Regions from separate parts of the Homo sapiens genome. Here regions 1, 2, 3, 5, 6 and 7 are each linked to region 4. The links are contacts of gene promoters, found by promoter capture Hi-C in blood cells and fetal thymus (Javierre and others, 2016). All regions are on one chromosome and are shown on one strand. Each heading gives the region's core, a stretch centred on a gene start or on the middle of the fragment in contact. The rest is flanking DNA. Distances are from core to core; before and after follow the strand shown. Region 1 overlaps SNRNP200 (small nuclear ribonucleoprotein U5 subunit 200). Region 2 overlaps NCAPH (non-SMC condensin I complex subunit H). Region 3 holds the start of ITPRIPL1 (ITPRIP like 1). Region 4 holds the start of CNNM4 (cyclin and CBS domain divalent metal cation transport mediator 4). Region 5 overlaps TMEM127 (transmembrane protein 127). Region 6 has its middle 56 kb from the start of NCAPH. Region 7 overlaps CIAO1 (cytosolic iron-sulfur assembly component 1).

What was found. Contacts are between HindIII fragments. The CHiCAGO score rates a contact against its expected background, and 5 or more counts as called.
Region 1: a fragment that was not itself captured here is called in contact with the fragment with the promoter of CNNM4 in region 4 in 11 of 17 cell types (naive CD8 T cells, total CD8 T cells, naive CD4 T cells and 8 more); the score reaches 12.2 in naive CD8 T cells.
Region 2: a fragment that was not itself captured here is called in contact with the fragment with the promoter of CNNM4 in region 4 in 10 of 17 cell types (total CD8 T cells, non-activated CD4 T cells, total CD4 T cells and 7 more); the score reaches 13.3 in total CD8 T cells.
Region 3: the fragment with the promoter of ITPRIPL1 here is called in contact with the fragment with the promoter of CNNM4 in region 4 in 17 of 17 cell types (M1 macrophages, erythroblasts, naive CD4 T cells and 14 more); the score reaches 15.9 in M1 macrophages.
Region 5: a contact is called between a fragment that was not itself captured here and the fragment with the promoter of CNNM4 in region 4, in 3 of 17 cell types (naive CD4 T cells, total CD8 T cells and naive B cells). The highest score is 6.3, in naive CD4 T cells.
Region 6: a fragment that was not itself captured here is called in contact with the fragment with the promoter of CNNM4 in region 4 in 7 of 17 cell types (naive CD8 T cells, total CD4 T cells, non-activated CD4 T cells and 4 more); the score reaches 9.4 in naive CD8 T cells.
Region 7: a fragment that was not itself captured here is called in contact with the fragment with the promoter of CNNM4 in region 4 in 5 of 17 cell types (non-activated CD4 T cells, naive CD4 T cells, total CD4 T cells and 2 more); the score reaches 7.2 in non-activated CD4 T cells.

Annotation. Positions count from the first base shown.
Region 1 is chr2:96,298,784-96,301,483 of GRCh38, forward strand. It overlaps SNRNP200 (small nuclear ribonucleoprotein U5 subunit 200), which reads right to left. Exons shown (of 45, transcript NM_014014.5): 5 at 2,215-2,270; 6 at 546-644; 7 at 32-184. Among named protein-coding and RNA genes, the nearest start is that of SNRNP200, 5.4 kb to the right of the region's middle. The HindIII fragment of the contact is 9,589 bases long and covers 1-2,700 here.
Region 2 is chr2:96,346,211-96,348,910 of GRCh38, forward strand. All of the region lies in intron 6 of NCAPH (non-SMC condensin I complex subunit H), which reads left to right. Among named protein-coding and RNA genes, the nearest start is that of NCAPH, 12 kb to the left of the region's middle. The HindIII fragment of the contact is 3,449 bases long and covers 1-2,700 here.
Region 3 is chr2:96,323,909-96,326,608 of GRCh38, forward strand. ITPRIPL1 (ITPRIP like 1) reads left to right here and starts at 1,409. Exons shown (of 3, transcript NM_001008949.3): 1 at 1,409-1,657; 2 at 1,839-1,941. The coding sequence starts at 1,932. RefSeq lists a silencer at 1,324-1,573 and an enhancer at 1,596-2,096. The HindIII fragment of the contact is 6,653 bases long and covers 814-2,700 here.
Region 4 is chr2:96,759,523-96,762,222 of GRCh38, forward strand. CNNM4 (cyclin and CBS domain divalent metal cation transport mediator 4) reads left to right here and starts at 1,380. Exons shown (of 7, transcript NM_020184.4): 1 at 1,380-2,700. The coding sequence starts at 1,478. RefSeq lists enhancers at 818-867, 1,427-2,016, 1,888-2,137, 2,017-2,605 and silencers at 1,198-1,617, 1,741-1,924. The HindIII fragment of the contact is 3,226 bases long and covers 425-2,700 here.
Region 5 is chr2:96,257,101-96,259,800 of GRCh38, forward strand. All of the region lies in intron 2 of TMEM127 (transmembrane protein 127), which reads right to left. Among named protein-coding and RNA genes, the nearest start is that of TMEM127, 7.5 kb to the right of the region's middle. RefSeq lists enhancers at 864-2,700, 2,501-2,700. The HindIII fragment of the contact is 1,492 bases long and covers 508-1,999 here.
Region 6 is chr2:96,390,040-96,392,739 of GRCh38, forward strand. No RefSeq gene overlaps it. Among named protein-coding and RNA genes, the nearest start is that of NCAPH, 56 kb to the left of the region's middle. The HindIII fragment of the contact is 6,592 bases long and covers 1-2,700 here.
Region 7 is chr2:96,273,531-96,276,230 of GRCh38, forward strand. CIAO1 (cytosolic iron-sulfur assembly component 1) reads left to right here. Exons shown (of 7, transcript NM_004804.3): 7 at 1-643. It overlaps SNRNP200 (small nuclear ribonucleoprotein U5 subunit 200), which reads right to left. Exons shown (of 45, transcript NM_014014.5): 44 at 1,727-1,819; 45 at 808-1,625. The coding sequence ends at 1,482. Among named protein-coding and RNA genes, the nearest start is that of CIAO1, 8.7 kb to the left of the region's middle. The HindIII fragment of the contact is 1,608 bases long and covers 577-2,184 here.

The sequences.
Region 1 (2,700 bases), core at 65-2,564, 460 kb before region 4:
AAATATACAACTATTGTCATCTTGGCCATACCTTCAAAATCTCCAATACTTCATCTGCCTTCTTCTGCGACACGATGGCATCATCATAGAAACGACTGAGCTGCCGCTGCAGCCAAAATGCATCAATATCCCGAGGGTGCAAATCCTTCTTCTTGGAACTCATCAGTTCACCTGAGGCTACGAGCTATAAAAGTAACCAGGCATTTAGCTCACCAGGTCTCTGCCAGCCTCGATCACTTTGCCACCACCCTGCAACCAAGTTCTACTTGACAATCCATAGCCCACCTTCTTGTGAGGACTTTCCAGAGGAAAAAACTCTGGAATATTGAGTTCAGAAGCACACCAGACTAAGATTTCATCAACATACATCTTTGGGAAGGAAGAAAACCGACAGAAATTTTAAGAAACTCTAGACACTAAGTGTTTATTATAGTTCACTCCAGCAAAAAGTGGCTCAATAAATGTAACAGGACCTAGGCATGGGGAAGAAGCACTAACACCCAGAAGTAACCTTGTAGCAATGAGGAAGAGCAAACTGAACTTACATTAGCCGAGAGGGTGCAGCGCACGACAGCCTCGTCCCCTTCCATGTCATCATCAGATGCCTCTTCTCGAACCTCCCCGTATACGTCTTCATCACCTTCCTGTGGAAATGACCCCAACTCAACCATGATCTGGAGCTGATCCTGCATCACCACAGAACCTCTCCCTCAAGTCACCCTAAATTAGCTCAATGGGTAGAGAAATGGCTTTGGGGTGAAACCGAGAGCCTATTGGAACCAAGGTCAGCCTTATTCCAGTGGACATAGAATGACTGCTTAGCACGACTTATTAGATATATCTACTTTCTATTTCTCACCTTAGGCTGCTACAATGGCAATCAACTGGATCATAGCCTCTCTCTAATACACACACAATCAACACTCAAAAACAGTGATCAGCTAAGGAGAAAAGAGCTATACAGAGGCATGCCTGGGAAAGCAGGTGGTGACTCCGGAATGAAGAGATCGCACTTAGCCTGCTCACCACTCTATTTACTCATACACTGCACATTAGGCGTACCTGGCATAGTGTCACAGTCAAAACAGGTACTTCAATAATGAGCACTGTTAAATGAATGAACTGCTAAAAGCAAAGCAGTTTGTTGCTACTTAAAATCATCAAATCCTATTAACTATACTGTAGGAAGAGGCTTAGCAATCACCTATTGAAATGGCCTCATTTTATAGAAGGAGAAACTGAAGCAAGATGACCTGCCAAGATACAGGACTCAAACTCAGAAGTCTTGGCTCCTAGTCCTCTGACTCTCCCCGTGCGACCCCTTCTTCCAGCCTTGGTATATATACCGGGGCTCCATTTTCCCTTTCAGGAGCCACTTCTACTCACTGAGAACTCTAAGGCACTGTAATTTTCTCAAAGTACCCCACTTATTCCTATTTAGTTATATTCAAGGAATTCTATTAGACAGTAAACATTAACCCCAGTGACTTAACCATGTACAAACTATGTCTGTGCTCTAGGGCAAATGTGCAATCTTTTAGTCAGATACAGTAATGAAAAATGGGAAAATACTGTAATAAGGTTAAAATGCAGTAAAACATAGCAGATACATTCTCAATGAAAGTATACACTGTACTTTAACTTTTTTCTTTCTTTTTGCTGATCCACTTGGTATATTTTAAATAATTATATTGTGGCCGGGCGCAGTGGCTCACACCCGTAATCCCAGCACTTTGGGAGGCCGACGGGGGGCGGATCACCTGAGGTCAGGAGATCAAGACCACCTTGGCTAACACGGTGAAACCCCGTCTCCACTAAAAATATAAAAAATTAGCCGGGCATGGTGGCGGGCGCCTATAGTCCCAGCTGCTCGGGAGGCTGAGGCAGGAGAATGGCGCGAAACCTGGGAGGCAGAGCTTGCAGTGAGCCGAGATCGCACCACTGCACTCCAGCCTGGGCGACAGAGAAGACTCCGTCTCAAAAAAAAAAAAATTATATTGCTTTACATTTGTTAGTTTAAATTTGCGGTAGCAAAGTTAAAAGATAACTGCACTTTTTTTTAAGCAAAAGAACATATAATGCCCAAGTCTGAAACCCATACAACACCATAAAATTTATCTGGTTTAAACTAGAGAGCTTGTTTACACTAGAAGGGGTCCCTTTACCTTAATCAACGTCAAAAACAAGAATGGACTGGGTATGTTTATCACTCACCTCCTCATCAGACTCAAACTGCACATTCACACCGTATGTCTCATCAATGTTGTCATCTGAAACAATGAAGGATTAGAAAAAGAGGGCAGTGAATGGCTAGTAAAACAAGGCACTCTGGAGCCAATGTCCTCCCCGACTACCTCTCCTCAGGAAAGATCTAAGTGCTAAGGACACATACAGATACTTAGATGATCAACATGAGAGAGCCACCTATGCTGCTCCTGCCAAGACCTTCTCCACCTGCCAGCCTTGGAGTCAGCCCAGCTCTGCTTGCTCAACCACTTGAGCCCCCAAGGCTCTGCCCACATTTTCTCATATTCCACACAATAAAAGGGTCTCAGAGTAAGGAACAGCTGCTGGAATCTAGGGATTCTGGTGTCCATCAATTGTAACTCTTCAAAAAACACAGAACAGATTATGGGAACTCACTGACATTAAGGTTTTTAAATGAATGATGCTAGAAGATGCATGTTTAGGGGTCAACAA
Region 2 (2,700 bases), core at 74-2,573, 410 kb before region 4:
GGAAGCCAGGTCATCAGCTTACAGTGAGGATAGGGAAGGAAGGCACTGGGGGCGTGAGGAGGGGAAAGGGTAGGAAAGAGTCCTCTAGGAGGTGGGCGAGTACATGAACTAGGGAGATATGGTGTGACTGTTAGACAACTTAGGGTCTACTTGAGGGTGGTGGCAGATGGATATAAAGTGAGGTCAGTCAGCATTATTTTGTGTCTCTGTCCAGCCGTGAATAGCTGTGTGGGTACAATCATGGAGTAGGCAGAAAGTTGGGTTTAATATGGGATCCTGTTGAGCTGAGTGAATGGACACAGCTGGAAAGGGACACTGGAGGAGGTGAGTGCATGTGTAAAGGTGTGGTTGCATTCACTGCTTAGGGAATTTTACCTCGGAAGACAGGGGAATGAGGGCAGTGGAAAGTAATATAATCAGTAGATTGTAGGCCTGGTGGGGTCAAAGACTTCGTGGTGTTGGGGACAAGAAGGGGTGAGCTGGAAATGTAGGAGGTGGTTGCCAGAGAGGGGCCCTAGAATTGAGGATATAGAGAGGTTGCAGTCATGGTTAATGAGTCAACTCAGAGCAGGCAAGGGAGCAAATGGCGGAGGCGGGGTAGGGGTCTTACTAGGCTGTCTTGGTGTCTTACTTGGCTGTCTTGGAGTCCTGGGTTTCTTAGGATGGAGACCATTGAAGGAGAGGATATCAACCAAGAGACAGTGTACTGGATGGATCAACATATGGATATTGAAATCAATAAGAGCTACACCAGGAATAAATTTGGAGACTAGTAATGAGCCATAAACTAATACTAAGATCTTCTGAGAAGAAGGACAGGTTGTGACCTGGGGATTGGAAGATGACTGCAACACAGATGGGCAGACAGTGGCAAAAGCTGATGTTGTACTCAGAGCTGGGGCATTAGAAATTGGGAGGGGGGATAGTTGGATGCTGCAATCACCTGGCCCACCTGTAGGCCACTGGTTTGACGGCTGTGAAGAGAAAGCAGCCACTGCAGAGGCCCGCAGGGGAAGCCTATCCTCAGGCTGGCACCATGTCTCAATTGGAGCAGTGCCCCTCAGCCTGTTTTTTTTTTTTTTTTATCACTTTTGCCCCTTCAGACCCATTTAGACATTTTGTGCCTACTCCTTCCCCTTAAAATGAAATACTAAGGAATAAGATTTTGTCAGATAGGGTAGAGATTTGGATAGGCAAACATTATTGTAATATCTAAGATTTTTCCCACCTAGCCTCTAGGAAACAGTTTTCACCCCTTGAGAGTGAAATGAGAACACCATTGAGAATACATAAATTAGAACAAGTAGGTGGAGATAATCCTCAGGAACTAAGTGGGCGATAGAGAGAATTTTGCTGATGACTGAGTCTAGAGGGCCCTGAGGAAATACCAGTTTTTGAGGAGGAGTGGGAGATGGGGGCTGTGGTGGGGTGGGAGGTGGCATCAGAGTTCTATAGATCTTAGAGTCCAAGAAATGTAGAATTGTGGGTGTCTTGGGTCTTTTTGTGTAATTAATAAATAAGCCAGATAAAGGGCAACAGTGAGATGAATGCCAGTGTTCTTACAGCAGATGGTAGTGGTAAGACTGAGTGTGCAAGGGGCTAGGGAGGTGGGGCCTTGCCATGCCCACTCTGAGTGGTGAGGTGAGCAGGGCATTGCTGTGCACGGGCAGGGAGGGGCCAGAGGAAGGAGAGTCACTGAGAATGAGGCCTAAGAGGGAGGGGAGAGGCGAGAGCAGCTGGCTCTTGTGGGGAGAGGGAGTTGTATTTTTTCCTTATGTGTGTGTCAGCATTAACCGTGGGTGATGTGTGTAGCATATCACCATGTTTAAAGACCTTGACGTAGGCCGGGTGCGGTGCTTAGCTGTTGACCTGGGAAGAGTTGTGAATCTCACTGTCATATACTATAAAAAATGGGGAACGCTGGCCCCAACCACATCTCGGTTTTATATTAGTGAATCCATTTATGCCAAGGTCTCTCTCTTTTTTTTTTTTTTTTTGAGATGGAGTCTTGCTCCGTCGCCCAGGCTGGAGTGCAGTGGCGCTATCTCAGCTCACTGCAAGCTCCACCTCCCGGGTTCACGCCATTCTCCTGCCTCAGCCTCCAGAGTAGCTGGGACTACAGGCACCCGCCACCATGCCCGGCTAATTTTTTGTATTTTTAGGAGAGACGGGGTTTCACCGTGTTAGCCAGGATGGTCTTGATCTTCTGACCTTGTGATCCGCCGCCCGCCTCGGCCTCCCAAAGTGCTGGGATTACAGGTGTGAGTCACCGCACCTGGCCTATGTCAAGGTCTTTAAACATGGTGATATGCTACACACATCTGAAGTGGTATTATTTATTAGTCATAGGGATCCAGAAAGCCCTTTCTACGTTCCCTTCCCTCCCCCAATTCTCCTTGTTTTTTCCCCTTCCCAGATAATCTGGAATTTATCTTACTGTCATTATTATTATTATTTTTTTTTGAGACAGGGTCTCGCTCTGTGGCCCAGGCTGGAGTGCAGTGGCACGATGTTGGCTCACCGCAACCTCTGTCTCCCCGGTTCAAACGATTCTCGTGCCTCAGCCTCCCATGTAGCTGGGACGCACCACCACGCCCAGCTAAATTTTTTTGTATTTTTAGTAGAGATGGGGTTTCACCATGGTGACCAGGCTAGTCTCGAACTCCTGATCTCAAGTGATCTACCCACTGGGGCTCCCAA
Region 3 (2,700 bases), core at 159-2,658, 440 kb before region 4:
TTGTTAATTAAAATAATACAACTTTAAAACACATGGTCTTAAACATTATCGTTTTTGCACACTCTGAAGCATATATTTTGCATCCTGACATCATGTCATAAGTGAAAAGATAAGAGACTTTCATTATTACTGCTCCAAATGCATGAATGCTCAATAACCTGTGATCTATTTTTCATAATTCACATTTATAAAAAGTAACTTTGGAACTTCAGTCATTGTCAGCTAGCAGACAGTTTTTCCTGCTCCACAATTAAATAAGTCAGTATTCTTGGAAGTATTGTACAAGTTGTTTGGGAGCTCCCTACACATTGCCACTGGATAAGAAGACCTGAAACCCAGCCATGTGTGATGGCTTACACATATAATCCCAGCATTTTGGGAGGCCGAGGCGGGCAGATCACCTGAGGTCAGGAGTTCGAGACCAGCATGGCCAACATGGTGAAACCCCGTCTTTACTAAAAATACAAAAATTAGCTGGACATGGTGGCATACACCTGTGGTCCCAGCTACTCAGTAGGCTGAGGCAGGAGAATCACTGGAACCTGGGGCGGGTAGGCTGCAGTGAGCCAAGATGGTGCCACTACACTCCAGCCTGGGTGACAGAGCGAAACTCTTTCTCAAAAACAAACAAACAAATAAAAACCCTGAAACTTGTCTTTCAGCAGAGGGATTTTAGTGAGTTAGTATCAAGGGGTCATCACTTCCTTTTCTTCTTGGATAGCTGACACAAGACAGGAAGACTAAGGGCTCTTTCTGATATCTGAAGATCCCTTTCAGGAAACCCATTCTGTTGTGTTTCTTAAGGTGTGATAAAGCTTGTCCAGCCTCCACACCGTATAAAGTTCTCCTTTATACACCCATGTATCAGCAGAGCTGCCCTGTAGGTAGGATTCTTACTCCCACGTGGCCAGTGAGTAGCAAGCAAGGCCCCAAGTAAGGTCTTTGGGTGCTGTCTGTTCTTTCATGAGAGTCACTTTGATATGAGAAAGGGGTTGGGGAAAGATGCCTGAGTCTGGGCGTGGGCTGGGAGGGAAGCACATTTAGGGTGCTGAAACCACATCTTATTTCGTGTGCCATTTTGCTCAGGGCCAGCCCGAAGTGAGAATGGCTTTTCTCGGTCAATTCCTAGTTTTGCCACCATCATCCTTACACCCGAATCCTAGTAAGTCTGTTCTCCACTGAACTGAGCTGAGTGCAGCTGACAGCAGGCACGGCGGTGCCCCATTTGCCACCCCAGGGAGGCCGAGCAGCGGAGAGTGTGTGGCCACGGCCCCTCCACTCTCCCAGCAAACCCACGGGGGCCTCGGTGCGGACAGAGACCCGGTGTGGGGAGGCCGCTGCCCCTGCACGCTGGGCCACGGGGGTTTGGGCGGGGAGGAGCTTGTACTGGGTGGGCGGGGAGGAGCCCGGACGGCGGGAGCGGCTGCGGCGCGCGGGCGCCCTCGGAGCCGCGTGCTGGGGGTCGTAGGGGCCCACCGCGCTCAGCCAGACGTTCAGACGCTCGGACAAGCATGGTCTATAACCCAGGAAAGGGGAGCAGGGCCACTCCCGCGGGCGGCCCCAGCGATGAACCGGACGCCCCCACCCTGCCGGGAAAAAAGCAGTGGCGGTCAGGCCGCGCTGTCTCTTTAAGATCGTGTTCCTACTAACACTGACGGTGAGTAACCTGGCCCTGGGTCCCGGGAGACATCCCGAGGTAGGATGGGCCCTTGGCCTCCTACGGATAGGCGGGTGAGAGTACAAATCTCTGGGCGTGGAATTTGGGGAAGTTATGAATGGGGGGAGGGTCGGGTTCCGATTTGAGCCAAAGCCCCCAGGTACCTTGTACATTTTAACAGGGCTCCTAGAGAGGGCGGGGAGACGAAGCAAGGCCAAGTTCCAAAGGGAGGATAGGCCCAGCTGGCTTCAGCGTCCACACGGCATAGTCCTTCATGAATGTTGGTAAGCGCGGTAGCTTGTGAATTAGGGTGAGTGGCAGAAGCTCGGGCTTCACGGGTGGGTGGGGAGGCAGTGGAACTGACCACTGCCGGCTGTCAGGTAGGCCTTGGGCACCTGGTTCTGCAGACAGTTTTCTGAACTAAGAAGTGAAGCTAGCCTGCCCACACACGGGGTATCCACTAGCCCCTTAGGAGCAGAGAGGGCACCGTAGCAAGCAGCTGGCGGCACTGTGCCTCTCTTGCGCTCCCTGGGCAGAGAGGGAGAGGCTGAGTGATGAGGCTCACTTCATACTGGGTGAGCAGAATGAAGACTGTGAAGTCACAGAGGAAGTGGAATGCTACAACTGGCTGCCGGGGCAGAGGAAAGGTGTCACCCAGGCAGGTTCAGGGCTTTCTGGCTATAAAAGGGAGCCTCTGGGATCAGCAGGTCATATCTGGTGCCCATGGTTGACTGAGGAGTCGGGTGAGGCCACCCTACCACAAGGGTCCCCCTCCCCATCCTACACAGGAATGAAAACAGTCCCATGTACACTTTCTGGAAGCCTAAATACCACCCACACCATGTGGAAGGAAAGCAGGAGAGAGACTGAGTGGCACATCCTTTCGCCCTCTTTTCTCTCGAACCTCCTCCCAGGCCGACCACCCTTGCTGTGTCCAAGCCAAGCTCTGTGGGCTTTCTGTTCCTCCTGAGTAGCTGATTTTCAGAATTTGGGGTACCAGGGCTCTGGGGAATGTGAGCTAGAGAGCAGATAAGTCTGGAAGA
Region 4 (2,700 bases), core at 130-2,629:
ATAAATACAAGTGTCAGTGCGGGAAGGGAGTAAAGTGGGTTCTGTGTCTTCAGTACTGGCAAAAGATTTGCTGTGAGACCTGGTGGTCAACCCAGTACCTGATCTTCTCTGTGCACCTGTGCAATTATTGTAAGGATGTTTATCTGTCTGTCTTCTTCCCCCTCACAGGGCGGGCAGCTGTGGTCTTCCTTATACACCCTACTGACACAGGGCTAGGGCCATTCAGGAAGCAGTCATTTCAGGGATAGGCCCACTGCCGCGCCTGCCTGCTCATGTCCACAAGCAGCTGCCCAGCTGATCAATCACCACAATTTGGGGTTAGGAGTTTGGTCCTGGAAGGCAGGTAGCAACAACTACTACCTAGCCAAAGAATATTCTAAAGAGCTGTCCTGTCATGTTCAATGTCTAGGTCCACAATCCCGCAAGCTTAGCGAAGTAATGCTCTGTCATTCTTACCCCCATTTACAGATGGAGAAATGGGCTGGGAGATGACAGTATGGAGGCACCAGGATTTTTGTCTCGGCTCAATTTCTGCATCTCTAAATGGAAATAATTCTACTAACTCTGAGGGTTGTTGGGGGGATTTAATGAATATATGTGTTTACTTGTTTATCTCCTGTTTTCTGTTCTAGACTGTAAACCCCAATGGGCAGCGACTTTGGCTTGTTCACTGCTCTATTGTCAGAGCCTAGAACAAGTGCCTGGTACAAAGTAGGTGTTCAATAAATATCTATGCCTAAATGGAAGAGACAGGAGAGAAGTCTAGGCCAGAGCCTGCCCCTTCTATAACCTTAGTTCCCCAGATTTGCCTTCCACATCAGGCAGCCACTGGTTGATGGAAGCATCGTCGGGCTGGGGCTGGGGCTGGGGTAACCTACTTCTGGCCTTAGGACAAGGTCGGCAAAAATCTCAGCAGTGAGGAGGCCAGAAAAGTCTCCAAGGGGCAGGCTGCAATGCCAGCCTAAGCCCTCAGGTTTCCTTTTTCTTTTTCTACATCAGGAAAAGCACTTTTCTCGCCCTGCCTGCAGAGCGGGCCACCCCTAGCTGCAGGTGAGGGACGGGAGAGGAGCCTCCCACGTGCGGCCGTGCGAGGCCGAGGAACAGGAACGGCGTAGCTAGGAGACCAGGTCCCGGAGAAGGAGAGCTGGCCCCACTGGCAGAGAAAGGCGGGGAAGGGCGCGGAGGCGGAGCACTGGGCGGGTACCCGCTGGCGGCTCTCGCGCGGCGGCGCTGCTCCACCTTAAGCGACTGTACCCCCTTAAGGGCGGGCGCTCAAGCAGCGAGCCCCGGGGGCGGGGCCTCCAATGCAAATGAGGGGCGTGGGCAGGCGGGGCGGGGCGGGCGGGGCGCTGACCTGACGTCAGGCTCGCGGCCCGGGCAGTTGGCTCGGCGGCAGCGGAGCGGCCGGAGCTGCGGTGCGGACCGGGGCCGCGCGGCGTGGCGCGGGGAGCGGCGGCGGCGGCAGAGCCAGAGCAACATGGCGCCGGTGGGCGGGGGCGGGCGCCCGGTCGGCGGACCGGCCCGCGGGCGCCTCCTCCTGGCGGCGCCGGTGCTGCTGGTGCTGCTGTGGGCGCTGGGGGCCCGGGGCCAGGGCAGCCCCCAGCAGGGCACGATCGTGGGCATGAGGCTGGCGAGCTGCAACAAGTCGTGTGGGACGAACCCGGATGGCATCATCTTCGTGTCCGAGGGCAGCACCGTGAACCTGAGGCTGTACGGCTACAGCCTGGGCAACATCTCCAGCAACCTGATCTCCTTCACCGAGGTGGACGATGCCGAGACCCTCCACAAGTCCACCAGCTGCCTCGAGCTCACCAAGGACCTGGTCGTCCAGCAGCTGGTCAACGTGAGCCGCGGGAACACGTCCGGCGTGCTGGTGGTGCTCACCAAGTTCCTCCGGAGGAGCGAGAGCATGAAGCTGTATGCACTGTGCACCCGGGCCCAGCCCGACGGGCCCTGGCTGAAGTGGACGGACAAGGACTCACTGCTCTTCATGGTGGAGGAGCCTGGGAGGTTCCTGCCTCTCTGGCTGCACATTCTCCTAATTACGGTGCTGCTGGTGCTGTCGGGCATATTTTCTGGCCTCAACCTCGGGCTTATGGCCCTGGACCCCATGGAGCTGCGCATCGTGCAGAACTGTGGCACCGAGAAGGAGAGGCGCTATGCCCGCAAGATTGAGCCCATCCGGCGCAAGGGCAACTACCTTCTCTGCTCGTTGCTCCTAGGGAACGTGCTGGTCAACACCTCCCTCACAATCCTTCTAGACAACCTCATCGGGTCCGGCCTCATGGCGGTGGCCTCCTCCACCATTGGCATTGTCATCTTTGGGGAGATCCTACCTCAGGCCCTGTGCTCCCGACATGGGCTGGCTGTGGGTGCCAACACCATCCTTCTCACCAAATTCTTTATGCTACTCACCTTCCCCCTCAGTTTTCCCATTAGCAAGCTCCTGGACTTTTTTCTGGGCCAGGAGATTCGCACTGTTTACAACCGGGAGAAGCTGATGGAGATGTTGAAGGTGACGGAGCCCTATAATGACCTCGTGAAAGAGGAGCTCAATATGATCCAGGGTGCCCTGGAACTACGGACCAAAACTGTAGAGGATATCATGACCCAGCTCCAGGACTGCTTCATGATCCGCAGCGATGCCATCCTGGACTTCAACACCATGTCGGAGATAATGGAAAGCGGCTATACTCGCAT
Region 5 (2,700 bases), core at 4-2,503, 500 kb before region 4:
CGCAGCAGACACACAGCAACTTGTATTTCCCTCCAGTACTTTAGCCATTCTTTAAAAAAACATTTCAACTAGACGACACTACCAGGCACAGTGGCTCACGCCTATAATCCTGGCACTTTGGGAGGCCGAGGCGGGTGGATCACCTGAGGTCAGGAGTTCGACATCAGCGTGGCCAACATGGTGAAACCCCGTCTCTACTAAAAATACAAAAATTAGCCGGCCGTGGTGGCGCGCGCCTGTAGTCCCAGCTACTCGGGGGGCTGAGGCAGGAGAATCGCTTGAACCCTGGAGACGGAGGTTGCAGTGAGCCGACATCGTGTCACTGCACTCCAGCCTGGCGACAGAGCGAGACTCCATCTCAAAAACAAAAAACAAAACAAAAAAACAAAAAACTAGATGATACTGTCTGTCTCCTTTGATAACTATGCAAACTGCAAAAGCTCCCAGAAGCATAGGGTAGAATAAAGGCTGAACCAAAAAGAAACCAGGCCATGATTAAGTATTTTAAGCTTTCATAAAAAGTAGAAATGGGGTCGGGCATGGTGGCTCACGCCTGTAATCCCAGCACTTTGGGAGGCCGAGGTGGGTGGATCGCCTGAGGTCAGCAGTTTGAGACCAGCCTGACCAATATGGTGAAACCCTGTCTCTACTAAAAATTTAAAAAATCAGCCAGGTATGGTGGCGTGCACCTGTAGTCCCAGCTACTCAGGAGGCTGAGACAGGAGAACTGCTTGAACCTGGGAGGTGGAGGTTACAGTGAGCCAAGATCACATCACTGCACTCCAGCCTTGGTGACAGAGTGACTCCGCCTCAAAAAAAAAAGTAGGAAATGGGCCTTAACTTCCTCTCCTTCTTCTGTTACAGCCACTGGCAAGTTCTTCTTTTATTTAGGCCATGGGTCACCAAGTGATTTAGGAAAATTTGGAAAGGGCTGGCAAGACTCAGGCTATATAGCGTCCTTTCCTGAACTTGATCTCAGGCTGAGAGGGTGTGGGGTGTGATCATCAATCTCTAGGGCATACCCAAATCACTGTGGCACTGGCTGAAAGCGTGTTCCCAGGTCCCCAGAGAGTCCGAGTTCTAGGTCTGGAGCAGGGCCTAGGAATCTGGATTTTAACAAGCAGCCCAGGTAATCCCCATGCAGGTGATCCAAGCCCCACACTTCAAGAAACACTGGTTCCAGACCTCAGAGGAAGGTGGACTGATGGGGGAAAGTCCAGGAACCTGGGGAGGGGACCTAAACCCAGCAAAGCTGACTCAGCCCAACAGATGCCAGCATCACAGGTTCTGGGTAGAGAGAAGCCCTGAGCCTCTAGGATTGAGCACGCATACCCTGCCTCAGGCTCAGAGTTCGCCCAGCAGAGGCTGGCTGGGCCCAGACAAGGCTCATACACCTCTGTCTGGCTTTGGGTCACCCACGAAGCAGCCCTCAGAACTATCTGTCATGATCTCTTGTCTGCTGACCATCTGTTTTGGGCCCAAGCATCCAGCCTGGGTAACTGTCTACTGCCAGAAAGCCTGCCTGTGTGTGAACCCTGCCAGCAACTGGGACCAGCCTTCATTGAACCCAGCCCTGCAGAGCCATAGTGCATGGGGCCTCACTGAAAGAAAAGCTCTAGGAGACAGGGGCTATCTCCTGGCTGTATTTTAAATCTTATTAAAAGCTAAGAGAGTTCTTCTTGGGGTCCACGTGGCATGTGGCAGGGATGGGGCAGTGTTCTTATAGTGCTTCCAAGAATAACCTACCAGAGGTCACATGCCGCTCTGCAGTAGGCCGTGTCAGATTCCACTCACATTACTGATGAGGCCAGGCAGTTGGAGTAAGAAAAGTAATATGTGCAGGCTTCAAGGAGCCTGTATTGTTTCTTTGGCTGGATGGTGAGCACAAGGATGTTCATTTGATTATCCTTAAAAATGTACATCCATGACATATACTCCTATTGTCTTATGTTTCATTATACATGAATTTTACTAGTAAGGAGACATGCACATGATAAAAAGCTTCCAAGAGGACATCCCTCCCCTTGCGGATGTCCACCTGCTCCTCTCCAAAGGCAAATATTGTTGGAGGGGCCTTGTATACCCCTCCTGGAACAGCCTGTGCACACAGATGGGTGAAGTGCCCCCCTGGGGGATTTACCACACAGCTCAGATGAGGAGTCGGGGGCTCCAGAAGGTGAAGTGGCTTCCTCCAGGCCACACGCTGCAGAGCTAGATTCCAAACCATGATCAGGCTCCCCTACACTGTGCTGCTCGGAATCACTAAGTACCAGACTCGGCCACTGTATTTTTCCCTGGAGATAATCAATCAATTCCTAAAGAGTTGTGCGTGAATGAGGGGTCAGAAGCTAACAGGAATACTGTTGGAGCCATCCTCAGAGCCAGCTGCTAAGCTCACTAGAGGAACAGCTTGAAGCAATGAAATCTCTCTAAGAAGCAAAAAAGGTTTGGGTCATTAAGTCCTCACATGGGGAATTATTGGGCAAAACCTGCCAGGCATGGTGTCTAAGCTCCTGCAGCATTGCAACCATCAGAGCCTGCTCTAGGAAGTGGTCAGGACACCGGAAAGGCTTGGGACCTGGCGCCGAATCCTAGCTCTAGCAGAGACTGTGTTACTTTGAGCAAGTCCCTTGAGTGCGCTGGACCTCTGTTCTCTCATCTATCAAATGAAAACAATAACATCTGCCCCACCCACCACCA
Region 6 (2,700 bases), core at 101-2,600, 370 kb before region 4:
GCATAGCTGTCTTTCAAGAGAAGACTCTTTCACCAGGCCCTGAGGGGTTTGCTTCACGTAGGCACAGCTGAACTGTCAGTGGAGCAAAGCAGCTCATGCCCAGAACTGTCTTGTTGTTTGCTTGTTTTGATTTTAGTTTTAGTTTAAAACTCTTCTGAGGCAGGGTGTGGTGGCTCAGGCCTGTAATCCCAGCACTTTGGGAGGCCGAGGCAGTAGGATCACTTAAGCCCAAGAATTTGAGACCAGCCTAGGCAACAGTGAGACCCTGTCTCTGAAAAAAAATCAATCAATCAATACATAAATTTTCCAGGCGTGGTGTCACACGCCTGTGGTCATAGCTACTTGGGAGGCTGAGGTGGAAGGATGGCTTGAGCCCAGGAGGTCAAGGCTACAGTGAGTTGCAATTGTGCCACTGCACTTCAGCCCGGGCGACAAAGCCAGACCCTGTCTCAAAAAACAAAAAACAACTATGGCTGAGTGCAGTGGCTTATGCCTGTAATCCCAGCACTTTGGGAGCTTGAGGCCAGAGGATCACTTTGAGGCCAGAGGATCACTTGAGCCCAAAAGTTCAAGACCAGCCTGGGCATTGTGGCGAGACCTCATCTCTACAAAAAATACAAAAATTAGCCAGGCATGGTGGCATGGGCCTGTAGTCCCAGCTACTCAGGAGGCTGAGGTGAGAGGATCACCTAAGCCCAGGAGGTCGAAGCTGCAATGAGCCGTGTTTGCACCAATTCATTCCAGCCTGGGGCTACAGAGCAAGATCCTGTCTCGAAAAAAATAAAAAATAAATAAAACTCTTCTGGTTTCTGTCTGATTTCCAGTATCTTTAAGTTTGGGGTTTTTGTTTTGTTTTGTTTTGATTTTTTTTTTTTTTTTAATACACAGAGTCTCACTCTGTTGCCCAGGCTGGAGTGCAGTGGCATGATCATAGCTCATTGTAATCTTGAACCTCTGGGCTCAAGCGATCTTCCTGCCTCAGCTTTTGGAGTAGCTAGGACAACAGGCACATGCCACTATGCCCAACTTATTAAAAAAAAAAAAAAGAAAGTTTTGTAGAGATGGAGTCTCTCTATGTTGCCAAGACTGGTCTTGAACTCCCAGCATCAAGGAATCCTTCTGCCTTGGCCTCCTAAAGTGTTAGGATTACAGGTGTGAGCCACCATACCTGGCCTTTAAGTATTTTTTTTAAATCCAGTATTTTACTGTTTTGAAAGCCCCCAGCTAAATTGGGGGTCCGGTACCACAGTGCCTAGCAACACCGCCCTAACACGAAATAAGCAGGAGCAGGATGTGGGTGTTTACACTGTGCCTTTCGTTACTTCTAACTGTGGACAGCCTGCTGCTTAGTTGTCTGATCCATGACCAGGTGTCCCTCACTGGGAAACTTGTTTATACTGGCAGACACCTGGTGGCCCTTGTCTGACCCATGTCCTGCCTGCCCATTGCTCTGATGCTAGGATCCTGACCTTGTGTTCTCCCTGGCATCCCAGGGAAAACTCCGCCTGGGGTAGCCCCTGGTTCTTCAGATGGAGGGCGCAGTACACCATAATCAGAAACAAGCTGAAAGATTTATTACTTTCAGATCCTGGGCAGGGAAGGCACAGTGAGTCAGGAGGATGTCTCCTGTCCCTGGCTCACACGAAGCAGGAACAAAGGGTCAGGCAGAAAGAGAGAGAGAGAGAGAGAGAAAGAAAGGGAGAGACAGAGAGAGAGGCAGCAACTGACAGTATGTATAAGGAGGCTCATCAGAGCCCAGGAGTATAGATAAGGAAATAGGATGTGGGTCACCTTAAGTTCATGCACAAATGCCTGAATGGTCCATTAAACAGAAGCAGCAGGAAAAGTGGGGAGCTGCTAGGTGAGAGAGCTGCTTCTAAGTTCTTACCTCTGGTCACCTGCTTGAACCATTTGGGTGTGTGGTTCTGCTTCTAATGCCTAGGCAGCAACCTTCGCTGTGTCATTCCCATGACATTTATCACTGTTGGTTTGGGGGTTGGCGTGCTCACTTAACTCCTGCCTCTACCAAATGGTCACTCTCCACCAGTTGCGTGTGTGTGTGTGTGTTTGTGTGTGTGTATTAGCCCTTGCATGTGTGTGTATTATCTTGCATTGCTGAAAAGTAATACCTGAGACTGGGTAATTTATAAAGAGGTTTAATTGGCTCATGGTTCTGCAGCCTATAGGAAGCATGACACAGGCATCAGCTCAGCTTCTGGGGAGACCTCAGGGAGCTTTTACTCACAGTGGAAGATGAAGCAGGAGCAGACATCTCACATAGCAGAGCAGGAGCAAGAGAAAGAGAGTAGGGGGCCAGGTGCAGTGGCTCACACCTGGAATCCCAGCACTTTGGGAGGCCAAGGTGGGCAGATCACTTGAGGTCAGGAGTTTGAGACCAGCCTGGCCAACATGGTTAAACCACGTCACTACAAAAAATACAAAAATTAGCTGGGCGTGGTGGTGCGCACCTGTGATCCCAGCTATTCAGGAGGCTGAGGCACGAGAATCACTTGAACCCGGAAGGTGGGGGTTGCAGTGAGTCAAGGTTGTGCCACTGCACCACAGCCTGGGTGACAGAGCAAGATCCTGTCTTTTAAAAAAAAAAAAAAGAGAAAGAGAGTGCAGTGGGGGAGATGCCACACACTTTTAAATGACCAGATCTCACGTGAACTCAGTCACTATTGCAATGACAGCACCAAG
Region 7 (2,700 bases), core at 131-2,630, 490 kb before region 4:
AGATCCCTTGTAGTCCCAGCTACTCGGGAGGCTGAGGCAGGAGAATAGCTTGAACCCGGGAGGTGGAGGTTGCAGTGAGTCGAGATCGTGCCACTGGACTCCAGCCTGGGTGACAGAGCGAGACTCCATTTCAAAAAAAAAAAAAAAAAAAAAAAATCACTTGTAGTCTTGGTGTGGTATCAAAGAATAGCCACAATTAGCTGAAAAGGCTATTTTAAAAACTTTTCCAACTGCGTATCTGTGTGAAGTCAACTTACTTCAACAAAAAAGTTTGGATGTAGAAGCAGCTGTAAGAATTCAACTGTTTATTATAACAAGATACTAAAGAGACTGTAAAATGCCACCCTTCTCCTTGGATTGTTTTGGAAGTTATTCTTCATAAAAAATGTTAACGTGGGCTGGGCATGGTGGCTCATGCCTGTAATCCCAGCACTCTGGGAGGCTGAGGTGGGCGGATCACTTGAGCTCAGGAATTCAAGGTCAGCCTGGGCAACATGGCTAAACTCTGTCTCTATTAAGAAAAAAAATGTTAACATTATGATTTAAAAGTGCATTAACCTTAATCTAGATAATAAAAGCTTTTTGGGGCAACCTCCAGAACTGTGAAAAATAAATTTGTTATTTAAAAAGAAAAAAAAAAAAACAAAAACCTGAGTTTCTTAGTTTTTAGTAGTGTAAAGAGGTCCTAAGACCAAATCATTTGAAAACTGCTACCCTGAGGAAACTGCCCTTCAGAATCATCTTTCAATTTTGTGTGCATTTAATCTAAAGAACAGAAGGTAAGAATTTGAAGACAGTCGGAAGATCTGGATTAGAAAACCTGTTTATTAAGACTGGGTCACATCCAGCTAGTACATTTCAGTGCCCTTTCTGGTGCTGCCTCCCAGGAGCAGACACTGCAAATTTCAGAACCCCCATCTAGAGAAACCCCTAACCTGTGATCTAGCTTCCGAGGCTCAGTGTTGGTTCTTGTGGTAGTGCTGATGTGTGGGTACCACTGAGGCCAGGCCACAGTCGCATGTACCCTCCTCTGGGCTGACTCACGAGGCTACAGGGGACAGCACACCTAATGAGCAGGTCTGTCCTCCAGACATACTCATTAACAAGCACGTTCCTGGCTAAAAAATAACCAGATCTTTTTGGCCGTGCCCTCAGGTTGGAGAAAGAAAACTTTTAATTTGGAATCACTACAAAGACAAATGGTTTCTACAAATTATTTTATTAGAATGTCAGACTCAAAAGAACTACCAGGAACATGCCTGAAAATGCTATATATGATTTATGCTTGACCCATGACACCTGCTGTCACTGGATCCAGAGTGAGCAAGGGAAAGGAAGTGGAGGTAGGCGGGGACAGCACCAGCCCTGGCTGGCCAGACCTGAGGCCCACAGACCTGGTCCCCACAACCAGGATTCCTACAATGTACACATTCCTAATTCAGGCTCAACTCTCCTTTACCCAAAAGTAAATGCCTCAGGACTCAATCTGAATCACTGTCTGTCTCAGCTTCTTTCACATCCACGCTGAATTTGTACTCCTGGTCACATCCCATGTAAGCGTCACTCATGAAGTACAGAGTGTAGTTGTGGGCACCAGTGGCTGGGGCCACAAAGTCCAACTTCACCTAGAAAGAGCAGGCAGAAATCAAGATGAGCATGGACACAGGAAGCATTCTCACCCTTCCCCCATGCCAGAACAAATGCTAGGGCCAGTGGACACACTCACCTTGGCCTTCTGCTGCAAGGTCAGCCTCTTGATGGAGATGAGGCTATTGGACTTGGCATCTCCAATCACCACCCACCAGCCCTCTTCACGTTTCTGCAGTGATCCAAAACCAAGAATTTCAGCATGTAAAACTTGATGACCATAGGCAACCATGAAAATGGTACAGTTACAAAAGAGAGAACAAAAATCAGATAGCTTTCCAAAGTTTCTTCCCGAAATACAATTAGATTTAACATTTTAATACTATCAAAAGTTGTCTCAAACAGACTTAATTTTTTAAGTAGATGAATTCATTTGTTGGTTCTGGCTCATTTCCTTGTGCCAAGGTACCTTCTCCCACTTAGTACCTGCCACTAAGTCCAAGGTACTACTATTAGAGGTCTAGTCTTTGGGGCCTAGGAGCTTTGAGTTCCTTAGAGATACTTTTAAGTACAAGGCAAATCTGCCAGATGAGAAAAAGCTTAGGCTGGGCGCGGTGGCTCACGCCTGTAATCCCAGCACTTTGGGAGGCCGAGGCGGGTGGATCACGAGGCCAGGAGATCGAGACCATACTGGCTAACATGGTGAAACTCCGTCTCTACCAAAAATACAAAAAAGAAATTAGCCGGGCATGGTGGCGGGTGCCTGTAGTCCCAGCTACTCGGGAGGCTGAGGCAGGAGGATGGCGTGATTCCGGGAGGCGGAGCTTGCAGTGAGCCGAGATCGCGCCACTGCAGTCCAGCCTGGGCGACAGAGCGAGACTCCGTCTCAAAAAAAAAGAAAAAGCTTAACACAGAGCTGAATGTGCACAGAGATATCCACAGCAGGCCTTGCAGCCCTGTCTACGGGCTGCCCCGCTGTCACAAAGACGAAGAGTCCCAGTTAAAAGCAGTCTTTACTCAGAGCCTTGAAACAATTAGTTTACAGAATTAAACATGACAGTATCTGGTTTCTGCTATCAACCTTCAATTATTCTCCCATATAAAGAGAACCAG